2 separate regions of the Homo sapiens genome follow, and region 2 is linked to region 1. The links are contacts of gene promoters, found by promoter capture Hi-C in blood cells and fetal thymus (Javierre and others, 2016). All regions are on one chromosome and are shown on one strand. Each heading gives the region's core, a stretch centred on a gene start or on the middle of the fragment in contact. The rest is flanking DNA. Distances are from core to core; before and after follow the strand shown.

What was found. Contacts are between HindIII fragments. The CHiCAGO score rates a contact against its expected background, and 5 or more counts as called.
Region 2: the fragment with the promoter of FOXN4 here is called in contact with the fragment with the promoter of ACACB in region 1 in 13 of 17 cell types (endothelial precursors, megakaryocytes, M1 macrophages and 10 more); the score reaches 11.0 in endothelial precursors.

Annotation. Positions count from the first base shown.
Region 1 is chr12:109,114,258-109,117,890 of GRCh38, forward strand. ACACB (acetyl-CoA carboxylase beta) reads left to right here and starts at 2,330. Exons shown (of 53, transcript NM_001093.4): 1 at 2,330-2,447. The HindIII fragment of the contact is 11,769 bases long and covers 1-3,633 here.
Region 2 is chr12:109,306,716-109,310,809 of GRCh38, forward strand. It overlaps FOXN4 (forkhead box N4), which reads right to left and starts at 2,569. Exons shown (of 10, transcript NM_213596.3): 1 at 2,404-2,569; 2 at 1,521-1,609. The coding sequence starts at 1,606. It also overlaps a transcript of MYO1H not described here. The HindIII fragment of the contact is 5,817 bases long and covers 1-4,094 here.

The DNA of each region.
Region 1 (3,633 bases), core at 1,080-3,579:
ATCAATAATTTATGTTCTCTGCTTGTTAGTTGTGTATATAGCATGTTCTTTTGTCTCTCTTAATGATGTTTGGGGTGAGGGTGTGGGAGAGGAAGGTAGGGAGCCTTCCAACAAGAAGCTAGTGCTCCTCCAGCCTAGAGAAGCTAAAACATGCAAAGCCAGACCCCATCCCTGGAAATTCTGATTTAATTGGTGGGGGAAGGCATGTGAATTCTCACAGAGGGTCCGGTTTGCAGCAGGACTGGTGATTTCTTTCCAGGTGCCTTGTTTTGTTAGACCATGTGGTCACTTAATAATTTTTTTTGGGCCAGGTACAGTGGCTCATACCTGTAATCCCAGTGCTTTAGGAGGCAAGGCAAGAAGATCGCTTTAGGCCAGGAGTTCAAGACCAACTTGGGCAACATAATGAGACCTTGTCTTTAAAAAAAAAAAATTTTTTTTTTTTTAATTAGCCAGGGGTGGTGTGTGCCTGTAGTTCTAGCTACTTGGGAAGCTGAGGCAGGAGGATCATTTGAGCCCAGGAGTTCGAGGCTGCAGTGAGCTATGATCATGCCACTGCACTCCATCCAGCCTGGGCAACAGAGCAAGATCCTATTTCTAAAACAAAACAAAACAAAACAAAAAATGTAACTTGATACCTGTGACTTTCTGAAACTAACAGCTGTTTGAAGAAATATATTTCTATTACCGTTCTTGTGTTTGATGGAAAGAGTTTATGAATAACTTTGGTTTCAAGCCTTCCAATTATATTCTGGAAAATACCTGTGTCTTAAAGAGATAGTGTCTAGGGAGAACTGAATCACTGCAGAGTTCTTCACCTGTATGTGTGGGTATGTCTAGTCTTTTTGCAAGTAATGAATTTCATTAGAAAGATATTAAGTGCTTGTCATGAGCAAGCCCCTGTGCCAGAAACTCAATATAAATCATTTCATTTTCTCACCCATATGGTGAAGTAGTTGATGAGGACACTGAAGCTCAGCCATTTGCTCAAAGTCATGGCTAATGGAGGGAGGATTCAAACCCACATCAGCTTGATTTCAAAGCCTAATAGTCCTGCCACTGTCAACACCCTGCCTAGATCATGATTATTTGGAATCACTGGGAAAGAATTTTTTTTTCATGAAGTTAGAAGCCTAAGAATTTTTTTCAATGGAATTTTATAAAAATGTCCTTGAATCACAGATGGCTCTCCCTGGAAACATAGGTTTGTTTGAGAGTCACCTCTTTTATTGTCTTAATAAATAGACTAAGAGCCATCACAAGGGCTACTGTGGCTAGAGAACATATGACTCGGGCCGGGCATTGTGCAGGCATTTGACCTGCATTCCTTCACCCCGGTTCCTGTAACATGTACCTGGTGCTGTGGGGTTACAGCTGATAATGCTGAGGTTTCCAGAGCACATGCTTCCAAGTCCAGTGGAGAAAATCCCAAGAAGTCCAATATTCAATGACTGTTCCTTATTGCAAAATAAGCCCAGAAACAAAGTAGCTGTGAACAGGCTGCACCAGCCCCAGCAGCAATTTCCATTTAAACCATTTTGCACAGATCCCGTGCTCAGCGCTCTCGCCAGTTTCTCCACTTGCTGTTTAGTAAGGCCATCATTGTTGGCAGGAAGTGGGTTCCACCTTCCCTGTTGCCTGAGCACAATGTGCTCCTATGTGGTCTCCACTTTCCTGCTGCCTAGTTGGCTGGGCTTCTCCAGCTGGGCCTTGGAGGCGACCTTTGTCCCACATGCCAGCCCTCCCCACGTTGCAGAACACTATGTAACTGCAGCGTGTGCTGAATTTCCTCTTCTGTGCTCAACCCTAGCAAGAGCCAGTCAACCCTGAATGAGAATGTGGCAATGGAGCTGTTTTTTTCTTTTATCCCCAAGTCACAAGAAATTGGAAACATTCCATTAAGTGGCGTGATTTGAGAGGGTTTCGCCAAATCTTTTCAGGGGAGAGAAGCCAGGTGACCTGATAGCGATCACCTTCCCATTCACGGTTTTCAATGGGGGCTTGTTTCTCAAATGACCAACACCTGTAGGCAGTTAATTTTCAGCATGTCACAGGAGGGCCCAGATGACTTTCTGCCTACTGCTTACGACAACATGGACTTTAGATGCCTCATGGCTTCAACAGCTAAGAATTATGAAATAAAGCGAGTTATGGGATTAAAAGGCAGATAGCAGAACTCTCCCAGGAGTAGCCAGGGCTGCACAAGTGGTTTGACGTGGGATCTTTCTCATCTTTGCCCCGGGTTGTTGCTGCTTTGAAGGTTAAGTGCTCCAGGGATATTTTTAAACAGCAGGGGCTGATTAATCTAAAAGTGACATTTGCAGTCCCCAGAGTAAGCAGCTAGCAGGCTTAGATTCAGGCCCTCAGCAAACAAGGAACCTGGAAAATGTAACCCTGAATGCACGGTGGGGAGGACATGGCAAGAGAAAAGCGGCAGGAATAAAGTGGTAAGTCAGCTCGCCCCTCCCCGGGGTCCGGACCATTCTGCCAACGTCCAGGTAAATTCGAACCCAATGTATAGTGAGAGCAGACCCTGTCTGAAGGCATGCACTTGGGGTCCCCGGGGAAAAACGACTCCCGTCATGTTTGAAGGAAGCTAATCAGAAGAGCTCGAAATGTAACGCAGATGAAAGAGAAGGGCCTTTCTTTGCTTCTATAAATGGTGGTGTGGATCCCTGGACATGCTCCCATATAAGTTCCACAACGTTTTATAAACAATTCTGTTTTTTGCCTCCAAAGCTACTGTCTTAAGGAATAGTATTCTGTTTCTGTTTCCTCAAATGGTTGTTCTTTTTTTTTTTTTTTTTTTTTTTAAAGCAGACTAAGGCTGGGCACGGTGGCTCATGCCACCCAGCACCTTGGGAGGCAGAGGCAGGTGGATCACTTGAGGTCAGGAGTTCGAGACCAGCCTGGCCAACATGGCGAAACCCCATCTGTACTAAACACATAAAAATTAGCCAGATGTGGTGATGGGCACCTGTAATCCCAGCTACTTGGGAGGCTGAGGCAGGAGAATCGCTTGAACCCAGGAGGTGGGGGTTGCAGTGAGCTAAAATTGCGCCACTGCATTCCAGCCTGACTGACAGAGCAAGACTCTGTCTCAAAAAAAAAAAAAAAGAAAAGAAAAAGAAAAAAAGGAGACTAAGAGTAAAGCGTTTGTAGTGGTCCTATATCCTATATTTCTAGGAAGACATGACTTTCTTTCAATGTTGAAAAAATGCATTCCAAAATAATATGCAAGTTAAAAAGTCACTCAGCACCGTGCAAAAGTCTCCTTGCTGTTATTCCTGTCTAACCCTCCTCCTCCAGGTAGCCACTGTGCACATTTTGGTATAAACCCCCCAGACCTTTTATTCTGTACACTCACACTGTACACAACTCTCTCCCTCATGTCTATTGTGATTACTTTTATTTTTTAATATCAATGGGCATCCATATAGGTTGGGTGACCAACCATCCCACTTTGCCCAGGACCGGGGAATTCCCGGGACATGGGACTTGCAATTTAAAAACTGAAAGGTGAAGATATTATTATTATCATTATTATTTGAGATGGAGTGCTCACTGCAAGCTCCGCCTCCTGGGTTCACGCCATTCTCCTGCCTCAGCCTCCCAAGTAGCTGGGACTACAGG
Region 2 (4,094 bases), core at 1,319-3,818, 190 kb after region 1:
ATAACAACTCCATGCAGTGGGTATTATTTCTATCCCCATTCTACAGATGAAGAAGCTGAGGCTCAGAGAGCTCCACGTAGCCAGAGAAGTTGGGATTATAATGGACTTGAGAGCCTAAGCTGCTAACCCTTACACTGCCACTAAATCACTTGGCATTATTTAAACCCTGAGAGTGCTGGAAGGAAGCCTAGAGGCCCTTGGCTGTGTGATCTTGGGAGAAGCCATTTCATTTTTCTAAGCCTCAGTTTCCTCACCTATACAACAGGGCTCATCAGAGCAACCTCCCGAGATGAGGTGAGTGATGGGGGATGGCACACAGTAGGTGCTTGCAAACTGCCACGTACCTGGCCCCAGCTCTGCACACAGCAGGCTCTCTGCAAATATCTGTTTGAATCTGTGTCCTCGTTTGGATCTCAGAAGGCAGCTTCCAGGCCCACAGCCCTCAGGAAGCAGCCTCCCTCTAATTGCGGGCTGCGGTCTGTCCCAGCAGGCACTCCTGGTGAGTTGCAGTGACCCCGGGGGGGCCAGACAAACCCTGGGTAAACAGGGCTGATAGGAGGTGACAGCCTGCTCTTCCCAGGCCAGCCCTGGTCCTGTCCCCATTCCGTAATCTGGACTGTGCCCCCTCAGCCTACAGACATGTTGCTTGCTCTGTCGGGGGAGCCCTGGAAACGAGGTCAGGGCTCCCTGGCCTCAAGGGGAAAGAGGCCGGGAGGGGACTCCAGGTCCTTCCTTTTCCTCCTTTTCCCTCCTGGAGACCTTGGACAAGCCCTTTCCCCTTTCTTGGCCTCAGTTTCCCCAACTGTAAAAAAAATAGGGGGTGCGCAGACTGGTTGACCTCCTAAAGGCCTTTTTGGCTATGATGTTTGAAGACAAAAAAAGACAGAAGGGCTCTGAAGGCTTCCATGCATCCTCTCAGTTGTACCTTGCTTCACCCTGTTTCAAGGCCTCAGTTTCCATCTAATTTACTCTTCAAACACATGAGGCCTAGAAGAAACCTTAAGATCATCTACTTCAACAAGATCAATTAAATGATGAGGAAGTGAGGCCCAGGGCAAAGGACTTGCTGAATGTCACACAGCCTGGCTGAGAACTTAGCATATCTGACTACTTTCTTAACATCTGTGGAGGATAGAACCCAATTCCTCCCAGAAGGTTTTTTTTTGGCAGGGGGTGGGGGAGCATTTCCCACAGCCCCCATTAAGGCCACTGGAGGGGAAGCAGTAGCTGCTATTGTCATCTTAACATTCACCAGGATGCCCAAACAGTATCAAATGCAGAAACGGACCTCTTTTGGAGGGGACAAGAGACAGCAGGCATTTCGTGGTCCCACTGGGCCAGGTTGTGGCCCAGACACCCTTAGCAAGACCAACATTGAAATCAAGACTTTCCAGCTCTCCCGCAAAAATCACAGAATTGAACATAACAATAGTTCTTGGGCAGTTTCAGAAACCATAAACAGCATACAAACACTTTGAGCAATTAAAAAATATATAGTTTGTTATTGTTGGAGCCCTCACCTGTATTCCTGTGGAGAGGGGTGGTGATTTTGCCCTGAGTTTCGAATAATTCCTGACATTATGGATGAGGTGTCACTTTCTATCATCTCCTTGGGAAAAGACAAGCAGAAAACAAAGCTCCCATCAGCGACGATATGGACAGGGCAGAAACCCACAGTTTTCCCGCAATTCAGAAAGATGGAGCACAATCAACTCACAGAACACTTTTTTTTTCTTTAAAGAAAAAAGTTCTAGAGGATTCCTGGGCATCTCAGGTCACTTTCCCAGGGCAATTCTACAGCGTTTTAGAAACAAATGAAGAGAATGAAATGAAATTCCCGGTTCTTTCGAATTAATGGGGGAAGAGCAAGGGAAGCTCTAGAATCCAAATGTCAAACCTGGAAAATGTGGACTCACAAAATAGGAATCAGAAAAACGATTTCCTTCCAAGCCTTATATTTTCAACCTCAGTTTGGTTATGATCACTTTCAAAATAAGGGGCAGCTGGATGTGACATGTGTATTTCTCTGGGGGAACAAATTCCCACTTGCAAAGGGAATAATCCCCGCAAGCTCCTGCCCTGAAATGCCTTCAGAAATGCCACAAGCCCTTACTGGAAAACCAATCCAACCACCCACGTCCCCGCAACACACAAACACTGCCTTAAAAAAATAATAAAAATATTTGAGTTCCCTAAGTTTCTCAAACTCCAAGCCTGAACCAACATAAAAGCCCACCAAAGCCTCAGTTCCGCCCCCAAAGCCATCGAAGGATTCCCAGGAAGGAGGAAAAGGGAGCAGAGGGAGGCGGCCCCGCAGCCCCTGCGCCCGGGTCTCTACCCTGGAAATGCAATGCCCGGCATTGCCCGGGAGGAGGGAGCAAAGCCGACCCTGCAAGGCGGTACCTGGAGCCGATCCTCGCGGGGCCGCCGCTGCCGGCGCTCCGGGGGTGGGCAGGGGTTCCGGAGGGGGGCTCCCTCGCGCTCGCCCCTCGCGTTCCGCAATTTGGCCGCCGTCGCAGCTCGAACCGTTTTTAAATTTCCCTCTCTGGAGCTGTCCAGCTCAGAGCATGCGCAGTAGCCGTGCGGGGGGCTTTTCCCCAAGGGTCAGTTACAGGGCAGGGTCAAGGGGATTGCAGCGGGCGTTTCCCAGCAGCCGCGAGCCTTGCACGCCCCGGGGTTCTGGGGGGGGGGTGTGTGTGAGGGGGGCGGGGCGGAGGAGTGCAGGGGTAGGGACCCCTCTTCAAACTTTGCCAACAGTGACAACAACTGCATGCCCGAGAGCATGCGTTGAGGAGCAGTGGGAGGGTGATTTCGGCCAAGGGAATTAAGTTGCAAAAGGAGGCTGGGTGCATTAAAACTTGCAATCCCGCCTGGGGCAAAGGACGTGGGCGGGCGGAGAGATCTGTTGCAACCCCCTCTCTCCCCCAAAGTGGAGGACGGGCCGGGAGGCAGAGACGGGGCCCCAGGTGGACGCGGATTCGGTCCACCTGTCCCTTTAAGAAAGTTGCGCCCGCGCGGGCTGGCGCGCAGCGGGAGGGGGCTGCGGAGCGGGGCGCGGGGCGCCTCCACCTGCTGGGGCCGCGAGGGGGGGCCCGGGCCCAGCGCGGCGGCGAGGCGAGGAGGGCTCCCCGGGACTGCGCGCTGCGCCCCCCTGTCCCGCGAGGAGGGTGAGCCCGCCCGGAGCGAGTGCGGCGGGGCTCGGCGGCCCCGGCAGCCGCGACGACGGCGACGGCGGTGGCGGTGGCGGTGGCGGCGGCGGCGGAGGCGGAGGCTGCGGCGTTCGGGGTACGGCGCCGCGAGCCCAGCGCAGCCGTTGGGGGCAGTGGCCCGCGTGTGCAACCGCGCTCCCTCCCTTCCCCGCCGCCCGGCCCGCGCCGCCGCTGCCCCGCCCCGCCTGGAGCCAGCCGCGGGAAAGGTGGCGCGGACCGCGGACGGCGGCGGGGCCCAGAGCGGGCAGAGGTCTCCACAGGCCCCTTAGGAGGCTTGGATGAGTTTGGTCCCCTGGAAAGTTTGCGTTTCTGGCGCCCTAACTCTCAAGCCTCCGTTGCAGTAATTGCCACGGCAGCAACGATATTAGGCACGGCTACCCCCATTCTTTCGTTACTTATTGACGCCTGCTTCTGGGTTCTTCTTCGCATCAGCCCTTGATGACATAGCATGGTCCTCCTTTTGCATGGGGGGAACCCAAAGCCCCGAGCGGCAGTGAGTGGGTCGGCGGCGCACGGGCAGAGCGCGGGCTCCCGCACCTCCCCAGCTCGCGTACTGCACGTGGACCTCTGCGCCGCCCCCACCGAGTGAGGCTCAGGCACCCGAAGCGTCTGGAGTTGTTTTGAGGCTGTCCTCGCGTTATCTACTTCGCAGCAGGCAGGGGACCAGTGTCCCCGCACCTGTGACTGTTTTTTTTTTTTTAAACCCAGTGTTTAAGTTCAGGAAGAACTCAGGGCTCCCCTGGACTGGGTGTGCCTGGATTTCAAGTTCTATTCAGGTGGGCTGTGACCTTGGCACTGGTCCATGTCCTCACAAATGGTTTTCTGGTAGCACCTGGACGTCCTTCCTCCTTTCTTCTCTGCCAGGAGTAAATAGATCAGCTTTCA